Regions from separate parts of the Homo sapiens genome. Here region 1 is linked to region 2. Evidence: promoter capture Hi-C in human tissues and cell types (Jung and others, 2019). All regions are on one chromosome and are shown on one strand. Each heading gives the region's core, a stretch centred on a gene start or on the middle of the fragment in contact. The rest is flanking DNA. Distances are from core to core; before and after follow the strand shown.

What was found. The method cuts DNA at HindIII sites, captures the fragments that hold promoters and counts their contacts. A contact is called where the count stands out against the background at its distance.
Region 1: a fragment that was not itself captured here is called in contact with the fragment with the promoter of HIPK4 in region 2 in 9 of the 25 tissues and cell types used here (IMR-90 fibroblasts, bladder, dorsolateral prefrontal cortex and 6 more).

What each region holds. Positions count from the first base shown.
Region 1 is chr19:40,451,005-40,457,359 of GRCh38, forward strand. It overlaps BLVRB (biliverdin reductase B), which reads right to left. Exons shown (of 5, transcript NM_000713.3): 4 at 360-488. Among named protein-coding and RNA genes, the nearest start is that of SERTAD3-AS1, 9.7 kb to the left of the region's middle. The HindIII fragment of the contact is 7,951 bases long and covers 1-6,355 here.
Region 2 is chr19:40,385,857-40,392,603 of GRCh38, forward strand. HIPK4 (homeodomain interacting protein kinase 4) reads right to left here and starts at 4,325. Exons shown (of 4, transcript NM_144685.5): 1 at 3,582-4,325. The coding sequence starts at 4,046. RefSeq lists enhancers at 3,678-4,227, 4,228-4,777. The HindIII fragment of the contact is 19,093 bases long and covers 1-6,747 here.

The DNA.
Region 1 (6,355 bases), core at 2,544-5,043, 65 kb after region 2:
AAACCATTAGCCAGTGGTAATCCCCTCAACCTTCAATCCCTCACCACTCCCCAGAGGTGAAAGTCCCAACCCTGTAATCCAGCCTTAGTCTTTCTGGTGACCAGACCTGAAGCTGCCTAGGGGCTGCCAGCTCTCAGTGAACTCATTAGCATAGAAAAAGACATTTACCATTTTGGAGATTCCAAGGATTTTAGGAGTTGTATGCCAGGAAACAGGGACAAAGGCCAAATATATATGTCACAATATCATAGGAAGGTTTGCAATTTTAGGGTGGTCAGGGAAGGCCTTGCAGATCTCCCCAGAGGGCAGGAGGGAACAGGCAGATGGCATTGGTGCCACCAGGTCCCTGCCCTGCTTACCTATGTGTGGCGGCATCACAGCCACGTACTTCAGGCCTGATTCCCGCAGCACCTTGTGCATCCGGATGTGGTCATCAGTCACAGCCTGCAGTCGTGGGGGCACCTTGGTAGGGTCCCAGAGCAGGAAAGCTGGAGGGAACACAGGGCAGGATCAGCCTGGGCTCTCTTGTCTTTTTTTTTTTTTTTTTGAGACAGAGTGTCGCTTTGTCACCCAGGCTGAGTGCAGTGGCGCAATCTCGGCTCACTGCAACCTCTGCCTCCCGGGTTCAAGCAATTCTCCTGCCTCAGCCTCCCCAGTAGCTGGGATTACAGGTGCACACCACCAGGCCTGACTAATTTTTGTATTTTTAGTACAGACAGGGTTTTGCCATGTTGGCCAGGCTGGTCTCAAACTCCTGACCTCAGGTGATCCACCCTCCTCCACCTCCCAAAGTGCTGGAATTACAGGCATGAGCCATTGTGCCCAGCCAAGGGCTCGCTTGTCTTGATGCCAGGACAAAACCCTGCCATGGCTGACCATTGCTTTCCAGTTGCAAAAACAGGGGAGTCCTCTGGGGCTCCTCTTTCCCTCACACCCCAGGTAAGAGCTGTCTGCTGATCACAATAATTCCAAATCTGACCTCTTCTCACTCCGCCTGGTCCTGTCCACTGTTACCTCTTGCCTGGACCAGCCCAGCAGCCTACTCCCTGGTCTCTCAGCCCCTCCTTCCCTCCTCCCAAGGAGCCCGTGAACACCCCTATCAGTTCACATCCATAGCTCCATCTCACTCAGGGTAGAAGCAAAGTCCCCATGGCCAGCCCTCAAGGCCCCACCTGATATGGCCCCATCAGCCCTCTGACGTCCTTGCCTACTCTGCCTACCACTCTCTCTTACACGCCTCTGCTCCAGCCAGGTTCTGCCTCCCAGCCTTGGCAATGTCTGATTCCTCTGCCCCTGATGCATTTCCCTCTCTTTTTTATTTTCTCTGAGACAGGGTCTCATTCTGTTGTCCAGGCTGGAGGACAGTGGCGTGAACACGGCTCACTGCAGCCTTGACTTTCTGGGCTGAAGTGATCCTCCTGCCTTAGCCTCCTGAGGAGCTGGGACCACAGGGGTGAGCCACCAAACCCCACTATTTTTTTTTTTTTTTGAGACAGAGTTTCCTTCCCTCTTGCCACCCAGGCTGCAGTGCAATGGCATGATACCGGCCAAGCCTGGCTAATTTAAAAAATTTTTTTAGGCCGGGTCTGGTGGCTAACCCCTGTAATCCCAGCACTTTGGGAGACTGAGGAGGCCAGATCGCCTGAGGTTAGGAGTTCGAGACCAGCCTGGCCAACATGGTGAAACCCCATCTCTAGTAAAAATACAAAAGTTAGCTGGGCATGGTGGTGCATGCCTGTAGTCCTAGCTACTCAGGAGGCTGAAGCTGGAGAATTGCTGGAACCCTTGAGGCGGAGGTTGCAGTGAGCTGAGATCGCGCCACGGCACTCCAGCTTGGGAGACAGAGCAAGACTCCATCTCAAAAACAAAGCAGAACAAAACAAAACAAAACAAAAAAAACACAAAAATTAGCCAGGTGTCGTGGTGCATGCCTGTAATCCCAGCTATTCTCAGGAAGCTGAGGCAGGAGAATCCCTTGAACCTGGGAGGCAGAGGTTGCAGTGAGCCGAGATCGTGCCATTGCACTCCAGCCTGGGTGACAGAGCAAGACTCCGTCTCAAAAGAAAAAGAAAAAAACATTTTTTTTGTAGCGATGGAGGTCTTACCAAGTTGCCCAGGCTAGTTTTGAACTCCCGGGCTTAAGCGATCCTTCCATCTCGACCTCCTAAAATGCTGCGATTACAGGTGTGACCCAGGACCCTTTGCCATTTCCCTCTCGTAGCCACATGGCTCCCTGTTTTCTTTGCAGACTTTGCTCAAAGGTCACCTTTCCATGCAGCTTTTCTTGACTGTCCTGTTTAAAATTGCAAAATCCTGTCTCCCCCAGCCCAGTTTACCAATCCCTTTTCTTGGGGCCTTGTTTTCTCCCTAGGACCCTTCCCCTGCCACCACACGCTAGAGTTATCCTGTGACTCTATCACATTTCCTGCTCCAATCCCAGCCCTTAGAAGCATCTGGAACATTGTAGGTACTTACTAAATATTTGTTCAGGAATTAGCTTTCAACAAGCTATAACTTGGCCAAGCTACACCAGCTGACATTTATAGAACTTTTACCTCAAGCCAAGAACTATGCTAAATATTTTTAGGAGCAGTTTGGTGAATAGTTAAAGAGCTTGGGTTTTGCCTAAAGTCAAGTACTGGATCGACCACTGGCCAGCTTCTTGTTTCCTCATGTGCAAACTGGGATGATATAAATTGTTCAAAGGCTGGGCAGAGTGGCTCACACCTGTAATCCCAGCACTTTGGGAGGCTGAGGTAGGAGGATCAGTTGAGCCCAGCAGTTCTAGACTCACCTGGGTACGATGGTGAGACCTGTCTCTACAGAAAATTAAAAAATTAGCCAGGCGTGGGGACCTGTGGTCTTAGCTGCTTAGAAGGCTGAGGCGAGAGGATCGCTTGAGCTCAGGAGTTCGAGGCTGCAGTGAGCTGTGATTGCACCGCTGCACTCCAGCCTGGACAACAGAGCAAGACCTTGTCTCAACAAAAAGAAATAAATAAATAGTTTGAGTAATGTTAGTGGTTATAAAAAGGTGTGTCACAGAGACCAGCCTGGGCAACAAAGCCAGACTCTGTCGCAACAAAAAAATTTTAAAAATTAGATGGGCATGGTGGCACATGCCTGTGGTCTCAGCTACTCAGGAGGATCCCTTGAGCCTAGGAGTTGGAGGCGGTAGCGAGCTATGATGACATCATTCTCACTGCAACCTCCACCTACAAGTTTCAAGTGATTCTCCTGCCTAAGCCTCCTGAGTAGCTGGGATTACAGGCGTGTGCCACCACACCTGGCTAGTTTTTGTATTTTTGGTAGAGACGGGGTTTCACCATGTTGGCCAGGCTGGTCTCGAACTCCTGACCTCAAGCGATCCACCTGCCTTAGCCTCCTAAAGTGCTGGGATTACAGCGTGAGCCACTGCGCCTGGTCTAGGATTTCCTCTTTACAGATGAGAAAACTGCGGTGCAGAGTGTGAAGTGGGTTTTTGTCTGCAGCCTCCAGTCTCCAGTTCACAATCTCAAATCCAGTCTCTAACTTACCCCTAGTTTCTTTTTTCTTTTTTTTTTTGAGGCAGTCTCGCTCTGTCACCCAGGCTGGAGTGCAGTGGCACGATCTCAGCTCACTGCAAGCTCCTCCTCCCGGGTTTACGCCATTCTCCTGCCTCAGCCTCCCGAGTAGCTGGGACTATAGGCACCCGCCGCCACGCCTGGCTAATTTTTTGTATTTTTAGTAGAGACGGTGTTTCACTGTGTTAGCCAGGATGGTCTCAATCTCCTGACCTCGTGATCCACCCACCTTGGCCTCCCAAAGTGCTGGGATTACAGGCGTGAGCCACAGCACCCGGCTGTTTTGTTGTGTTTTGAGACAGGGTCTTGCTCTGCAGCCAAGGCTGGAGTGCAGTGGTGCCATCACGGCTCACTGCAACCTCTGCCTTCTAGGCTCAAAGGATCCTCCTACCTAAGCTTCCCAAGTATTGGGGACCACAGGTGTGTACCACCACACCCAGCTAATTTTTTGTATTTTTTTTTTGTAGAGATGGAGTTTTGCTGTGTTGCCCAGACTGGTCCTGCACTCCTGGACGCAAGCAATCCGCCCACCTTGGCCTCTCAAAGTGCTAGGATTACAGGCGTGAGCCACTGTGCCTGGCCTTACTCTGGGTTTCTTTCTAATCCTCTCAGATGCCTCCATAAAAAACAATCCTCCCCAAGCCCTAATGGATAAACTCCAAGCTCCTTAGATGACAAAAATCTTTCTAATCTTTTACCTTGACATTTGAATATGGAGGGAAGATTAAACTCTAATAATTAGAGGCTGGAAGATAATTAAAGTGTGACAATAGCACTGTGGTGCTGGAAGAGAAAAGTCCTTTTTCTTGGGACTTGCCGAAGGTGTCTGTGGGTGTGCAACTCCATTTCAAATAGTTTAGGAAGTCTGGGCGCAGTGGCTCATGCCTGTAATCCAGCACTTTGGGAGGCCAGATCACTTGAGGTCAGACCAGCCTGCCCAATATGGTGAAACCCCATCTATACTAAAAATACACACACACAAAATTAACCAGATGTGGTGGCAGGCACCTGTAATCCCAGCTACTCAGGAGGCTGAGGCAGGAGAATCCCTTGAACCCAGGAGGTGGATGTTGCAGTGAGCCAAGATCACGCCACTGTATTCCGGCCTGGGTGACAGAATGAGACTCTGTCTCAAATAAAAACAAACAAACAAAAAACCCAAATAGTTTAGGAGAACAAAAACAAAATCTATTTGTGTATGTGTATGTGCATAGATAAACCAATTACAAAACACAATCACAATTTTAAAATCAGGAATATGGCTGTTGGCCAGGTGCAGTGGCTCAGGTGTAATCCCAGCACTTTGGGAGGCTGAGGCTGGTGGATCGCTTGAGTCCGGGAGTTCGGGACCAGCCTGGGCAACATGGCGAAACTCTATCTCTACCAAAAATACAAAAATTAGCCAGCCTTATAACCCGGTCTCAAAATAAATAAATAAATAGATAGATAGCTACAAACTTAAAAATAAAAAAAGAAAAGGAATATGGTTGTTCACACGACTATTAACTTTTCTGTTTAAAAATTTTTATAATAAAAAGTTAAAAAGTATATTGAGGACCTACACATTGAAGTAAGCAGCCATGATGTATGTAAGCTAACTTCAAATGGGTCAGAAAAAAAACATTGTGTGTCTGTGAACAGAGGACGGTAGGTGTACTGGTGTCCTTTCAATTTTTCTGTAAGTTTAAGATCATTTCCAGATAAAAAGTTAAGCTGGACTCAATGGCTCATACCTGTTGCCCCAGCTATTTGAGGGGCTAAAGTGAGGGGATTCCTTGAGCCCAGGGGTTCAAGGGTACAATGAGCTATGATCAGGCCACTGCACTCCAGCCTGGGTGACAGAGCGAGACCTTGTCTCTATGTTTGTTTTTTTTTTAATGAAAAAAAAAATCCTGGCACACCTAAGACTTTAATATTTAGAAAACAATCTAAACAAAAAAAAATGAGAAAAAAGAAAGCAAATTAAATCAATTTTACAGGTTTGTCTTTTTCATGGAAGCAAAACTTAACCAGTTAAATTGGTTTTTAAGACATGGGAGAGTCTGGACGTGGTGGCTTATACCTGTAATCTCAGCACTTTGGAAGGCTGAGGTGGGAGGACTGCTTGAGGCCAGGAGTTCAACATCAGCCTGGCCAACATGGCAAAACCTTGTCTCTACCAAAAATACAAAAATTAGCAGGGCATGGTGGCAGGCGCCGGTAATCCCAGCTACTCAGGAGGCTGGGGCAGGAGAATCACTGTGGGCCACGATCTTGGTCCCAGGCACCATGAACCCGGGAGGTGGAGTGGCGGTTGCAGTGAGCTGATACCACGCCACTGCACTCCAGCCTGGGCAATGGAGTCAGACTTCATCTCAAAGAAAAAAAGACATGGGAGAAAAAAACAAAACTAAAATTAACAGCAGACCATTCCAATCTGCGAACAAAAGTAAGACCTTGTCTCTACAAAAATATCAAAAAATTAGCCAGGTGTGGTGGTGCATGCCTGTAGTCCCAGCCGCTTGGGAGGCTGCAGTGGGGAGGATCACTTGAACCCAGACTGAGGCTGCAGTGAGCCATGGTTGCACCACTGCACTCCAGCCTGGGTGACAGAAAGTCTCAAAAAAAAAAAAAAAAAGTGAACCATTCTGAAATCGCAAGTTTACTCGTGTATTACTTTTCCATTTCAGAGCTTGAGGAAAAAAGCCATAAATGATTTTGCTTCCTACCCTCCAACTAGGTCTGGCCTCCAGGCCTCTTTGCTTGCTTTGTCCTCTGCCTGGAGTGTAATTACAATCATCAGGCAGCCCTCCCTC
Region 2 (6,747 bases), core at 3,075-5,574:
ACCACCATGCGCAGCTAATTTTTATATTTTTAGTAGAGACGGGGTTTCACGATGATGGCCAGGCTGGTCTCGAACTCCTGACCGCAGGTGATCCACTCGCCTCGGCCTCCCAAAGTGCTAGGACAGGCGTGAGCCACCGCACCCAGGTCCACCATTGCTCTTAATGCCATTTCACACACTATATCTCTTAATTTTTTATTTTAATTTTATTTTTTAATTATTTATTTTTTTGTGACGGAGTCTCGCTCTGTTGGCCAGGCTGGAGAGCAGTGGTGTGATCTTGGCTCACTGCAACCTCCACCTACTGGATTCAAGTGATTCTCCTGCCTCAGCCTCCTGAGTAGCTGGGATTACAAGCGCTAATCTTTTGCATTTTTGGTAGAGACAGGCGGGGTTTCACCATGTTAGCCAGGCTGGTCTCAAACTCCTGACTCAGATGATCTGCCCGCCTCAGCCTCCCAAAGTGTTGGGATTACAGGCGTGAGCCACGGCGCCCAGCCCTTTTTTCCTTTTTAGAGACAGGGTCTTGCTCTATCACCCAGGCTGGAGTACAGTGGCACCATCGTAGCTCACTGTAGCCGCGAACTCCAGGGCTCACAAGATCCTCCCGCCTCAGCCTCCTGAGTAGCTGGGACCACAGGCATGCACCTCCATACCCAGCTAATTTTTTAACTTTTTGTAGAGATAGAGATGGGTCTCACTATGTTGCCCAGGATGGCTCCTGGGCTCAAGTGATCCTCCTGCCTCAGCCTCCCAACATGCTGGGATTATAGGCATGAGGCCCTGCACCTGGCCTCTCTCAGCATTTCTCTCCCCAGCGAGGATGTCAGTCCCACGAGGGCAAAGAATTTATCCATTTTGTTCAATACTGTATCCCTAGATGCCTAGAACAGGGCTTGGCACACAGCAGGGGCTCAGTAAATAATGAGTGAATGAATGAATGTATGTATGGGCTTTGAGTTCCTTCATTCTCTTTCCATCTCTTGCTTGTATCTCTCTCTCTCTGTCTCTCATTTGAGACAGTGGCTCACCCTGTCACCCAGGCTGGAATGCAGTGGCGCAATCTCGGCTCAAGGCAACCTCCACCTTCCACGTTCAAGCGATTCTCCTGCCTCAGCCTCCCAAGTAGCTGGGACTACAGTCACATGCCACCATGCCCAGCTAATTTTTGTATTTTTAGTAGAGATGGGTTTTCACCATGTTACCCAGGCTGGTCTTGAACTCCTGGGCTCTAGTAATCCTCCCACCTCGGCCTCCCAAAGTCCTGAGATTCTAGGCATGAGCCACTGTGCCTGGCCATTTGTACCTCTCGTTCTTTCTTTGCAACTGCCTCTCCATCACTTGCCTGTCTCTTGTCTCTCAGTGTCTCTCTCTCTCTTTCCATCTCTGTCTCTGTGTCGTCCACTAGGAAGACACCTCCCTGAAGTCCCGGTCCTCTTCTGTCTTCCTCTTCAGGCACTGTTCACACTCGTCACAGGCCTTTGACACATGACAGGTGCTTGGCCAACAGCTGCGGAACCAACATTGCGAATGGCCGAAAGCCTTTGTCTCTCCCCATGCCTCTGGTGGAGCTGTCTGCCATTTTCACCCTGAATCTCCGTGACTCTCTCTTGGCCTGTTTCTTTTTCTTTTTCTTTTTCAGGTGGCTTCACTCTTTTGTCCAAGCTGGAGTGCAGCGGCATGATCTCGGCTCACTGCAACCTCCGCCCCCATATGGGTTCAAGCGATTCTCCTGCATCAGCCTCCCAAGTAGCTGGGATTACAGGTGCACCCCACCACATCTGGCTAAGTTTTGTATTTTTAATAGAGACAGGATTTCACCATGTTGGCCAGGCTGGTCTTGAGCTTCTGACCTCAGGTGATCCACCTGCCTCAGCCTCCCAAAGTGCTGGGATTACAGGCTTGGGCCACCACACCTGGCCAGCCTGTTTCCTTCTCTGAGTTTTTCTGCTTTTCATTCAGCCATTTCTCAGTTTTTTGTTTTTGTTTTGTGTTGAGACAGAGTCGAGCTCTGTCGCCCAGGCTGGAGTGCAGTGGCGTGATCTCAGCTCACTGCAAAACCTCTGCCTCCCAAGTTCAAGTGAGTCTCCTGCCTCTGCCCCCCAACTAACTGGGATTCCAGGTATGTGCCACCACGCCTAGCTAATTTTAGTTTAGTTTTTTTTTTTTTTTTTCTGAGACAGAGGGACTTCCTCTGTCGCCCAGGCTGGAGTGCAGTGGCGTAATCTCAGCTCACTGCAACCTCTGCCTCCCGGGTTCTAAGCGATTTATCTGCTTCAGCCTCTGGAGTAGCTAGGATTACAGGTGCCCGCCACCACACCCGGCTAATTTTTATACTTTTAGCAGAGACGAGGTTTCACCATATTGGTCAGGCTGGTCTTGAACTCCTGACCTCAGGTGATCCACCCGCCTCGGCCTCCCAAAGTGCTGGGATTACAGGCGTGAGCCACCGCACCTGGCCATCCCTCACCTTTCACTTGCAGAAAGCAGTATCATGAAATGGTTATTAATTGCTATTCTGATCCCAGAGTGCCAGGGCTTCAGTACCCAAGAGGCTGAGTGACCCTGGGCACTTAGTCTATGTTTGTGGAATGAATTCATTCCTTCCACAGAGACAGTGGGGGTGATAATGCCGGCCAGGTGCTGTGGATCCGTCCTGTCTGTCCCCTGCTGTGTTTGTGGAAGTCCCTGCTTCCCTGGGTCTCTGTCCTTCCACCTCTTGGGGCAGAATAATCCACCTTTTTCTGTCTCTGTGTCTCTGGCAAGCATTCATTTAGCACTGGCTCCATGACTGCAGTGCTGGGAGATGTCAGGGACACAGCGATGATTAAGTCAGCCCCAGCCTTGCCCTCAGGGTGCCCCTGGTTCAGAAGCATCCAGACAGTATCAAACTCAAAAGCAGACAGAGGACTGGGCATGGTGGCTCACACTTGTAATTCCAGCACTTTGTTGAGGCCAAGGTGGGCAGATTGCTTGAACTCAGGACTTTGAGACCAGCCTGGGCAACATGATGAAATCCTGTTTCTACCAAAAAACACAAAAATTGGCTGGGCGTGGTGGCTCACGCCTGTAATCCCAGCACTTTGGGAGGCTGAGGCAGGTGGATCACAAGGTCAGGAGTTTGAGACCAGCCTGGCCAACATGGCGAAACTCCATCTCTACTAAAAATACAAAAATTAGCCGGGCATGGGTGGCGGGCACCTGTATTCCCAGCTACTCAGGAGGCTGAGGCAGGAGAATCGCTTGAACCCGGGAGGCGGAGGCAGTGAACCAAGATCATGCCATCATCACCCCGTCTCTGATAAGTACAAAAAAAAAATTAGCTGGGCGTGGTGGCGCATCCCTGTAATCCCAGCAACTCGGGAGGCTGAGGCAGGATAATCACTTGAACCCAGGAGGCGGAGTTGCAGTGAGCTGAGATTGTGCCACTGCACTCAAGCCTGGGTAACAGAATGAAACTCCGTCTCAAAAATAATAATAATAATAATTTTAAAAAATTAAAAAAAAAATCTAGGGCTGGAAGAAGCTGGGAAAAAGACAAGGAACTAGGGACGCAGCCACCCTAGACGACCCCTACTCACCTTGACCCTGAAGGGGCAGCGGGTCTGGTCCACCAGCATGATGTTCTCAGGCTTGAGATCAGCGTGGATGATAGCCAGCTCCTTGAGCCGGGCCAGGGCTGTGAGCACCTGCAGGGTGACTGTACGGATGTGGCGGGCGGGGAGGGGCGCGAAGTTGTTCTCCTTCTGGAACTCGAAAAGGTTTTGCTCCAGCAGCTCAAAGACCAGGTAGAACTTGAGGGCGTCATGGAAGAACTCAAGGAAGCGGATGACGTGGGCCTCTTCAGGGTCTAGGCCTCGCATGCAGTGCAGCAGCTTCAGCTCGTTCTTGATGATGCGGTTGCGGTAGGCGTCATTCTTGAGGATCTTGATGGCCACCATCTCGCCCGTGCTCCGCCGCCAGCCCTTGGCTACCTCCCCGAAGGTCCCCTTGCCCAAGACCTCGATGATGTCGTAGCAGTCAGTCTCCGACTGGATGGTGGACATGGTGCCGCTGCTGCCAGACACCGCCCTGCCCAGGCCCCTGTACCACTGGCTCTGCCGCCCAGGCCTCCCGCCTGGCTGCTGACACAGCAGGCCCCCCAGTGGGGGAAAGAGAACCGCACTCGTGTCTCCTCCTATGAGGTTGGCCCCTGCTTCCCTGGCACCCCCAAACCCCCAGGCCACACTGTCAGTCTGCCAGGGGCTGCACCCCTCCCCAGAAACCCTCCTGGCTTGGGATGAGGGGCCCCAGGCCCCACCGAATGGGTTCCAGCGCTGTTGAGTGGCTCTGGTTCTGTTGTTGGAGACCTGAGCCCTGGCTGGAGTGGGGGTGGGGTACCAGGCTGGGCCCCCTCCCCCGCCCAGTGGCGGAATCTTGCAAAGACCAAACAGGTGAAGTGTTGACAGAGGGGGGTCTAATCGTGGGCCTTGGGCATACAGGAATGGGGATAAGGCAGGAGTGAGGAAAGGTGGGCTTCTTGAGCTTGGGAGATGTGATGTGTGTGTGTCTGTGTTCAGAAAACTCCTGTCCCAGTCTGTGGCTACTGTGGGGTGAGGTTGTAAAAGGCCCTGAATGCCAGGCTAAGGAGTTTGGATTCTGTTCTGAGGGCACTGGGGAGCCACAGAAGGGCTTTGAGCAGGGGAGGGCAGGGTCAGATATGAGTGTCAGAAAGTTACTGTATGAAAAGGGATAGGTTGGAGCGGGTAAGAGTGGAAGCCCCAAGCCAGGGAAAGAGTCCAGGACAGGGCACAGATGGGAGAGGTTGGGGAGGAGAGGGCGAGGCCAATGGATGAGACACTCAAAAGGCCAGGAGAAGCAGCCGTGAGACCGACGGTTTGAGGGAAAGGCGGGAGCTGTCTAAGAACGGGCCTAGGGCTCTGGGATGAAGGGGCAGTCCCCGAGAAATGGACATGGATAAGAAGCAGCTTGGGGGAGATGTTGAGGCCAAATTAGAAAATGTATTTATTTTTGGCTGGGTGCGGTGGGTCACGCCTGTAATCCCAGCACTTTGGGAGGCCAAGGAAGGCAGATCATAAGGTCAGGAGATCGAGACCATCCTGGCTAACACGGTGAAACTCTGTCTCTACTAAAAATACTAAAAATTAGCCAGGCATAGTGGAGGGCGCCTGTAGTCCCAGCTACTCGGGAGGCTAAGGCAGAAGAATAGCTTGAACCCGGGAGGTGGAGGTTGCAGTGAGCCGAGATTGCACCACTGCACTCCAGCCTGGGTGACAGAGCGAGACTCCATCTCAAAAAAAAAAAAAAAGTGTTCATTTTTATTTATCTTTTTAATTTTTTGTAGAAATGGGGTCTCACTATGTTGTCCAGGCTGGTCTCAAGTGATCCTCCTGGCCTCAAGTGATCCTCCTGCCTCAACCTTCCAAAGTGCTGGGATTGTAGACATGAGCCACCACTCCAGCCAGATTAGAATATTTAACAGCGGGCCGGGCTCGGTGGCTCATGCCTGTAATCCCAGCACTTTGGGAGGCTGAGGCAGGTGGATCACCTGAGGTCGGGAGTTCGAGACCAGCCTGACCAACATGGAGAAACCCCGTCTCTACTAAAAATACAAAATTAGCCGGGTGTGTTAGCACATGCCTGTAGTCCCAGCTACTCAAGAGGCTGAGGTCGGCAGGCTGAGGTATGAGAACTGCTTGAACGCGGGAGGTGGGGTTGCAGTGAGCCAAGATTGCGCCATTGCACTCCAGCCTGGGCAACAAGAGTGAAACTCCGTCTCAAAAAAAAAAAAAAAAGTAAAAGAAAATGTAACATCAAAACATTTAAACAAGGATGAAGTTCTTTAGAAGTCTTATCTGATCCTTACAACATACAAAGTAGGGATTTTATGGAAGAGAAAATCAAGGCACAAAGAAGTTTTTAAAGTGCCTGGCCAGGAGTGGTGGCTTACGCCTGTAATCCCAGCACTTTGAGAGGCCAAGGTGGGCGGATCACCTGAGGTCAGGAGTTTGAGACCAGCCTTGCCAACATGACAAAACCTCAACTCCACTAAAAATACAAAAATTAGCTGGGCATGGTGGTATACACCTGTAGTTCCAGCTACTTGGGAGGCTGAGATCGGGAGGCTGAGGTATGAGAATCGCTTGAACCTGGAAGGCGGAGGTTGCTGTGAGCCAAGATTGCACCACTGCACTCCAGCATGGGCAACAGAGTGAGACTCTGTCTCAAAAAATAAAAATAAATAAATAAATGATAAAATAAAATGCCTAAGGTCACTCAAGTGACTGCCAGAGACAGCCTCTGACCCTAAGCAGCCTGGCTCCAGCGCCAAACTCTGAACCACCACCCACACAACCTCCTAAAAACCAGGAGACCTCTGGAGAAGGGGTGCAGAAGCTGCTGGGTCCCCAAGGGGATGCAGGAGAGAGTTTGGGAGTTGTCAGCACAGAGAGGAGGCGTGGAAGCCATGGGGGAGGGTGATGCACCCTAGGGAGGGTGTGGGGGTGGACAAGGGCCCGGGAGGAACCTCCGGTGCCCAAGGAGCACGGGGAGAGAGAGGTGTGGGGAAGAGGAGCAAGTGTCAGGAAGATCGAAGGGGCCTTGAAGAGTCAGGACAAGAGAGACAAAGGAAACCCTCAGGCGTGGCCACGGGGAGGTCACTGCTGACACAGACAAGGTAGGAGGAAAACCCCAAATGCTGGGGTCTTGGAAATGGGGGTGCACTGTGAGTGTAGATAACTCCTGCCA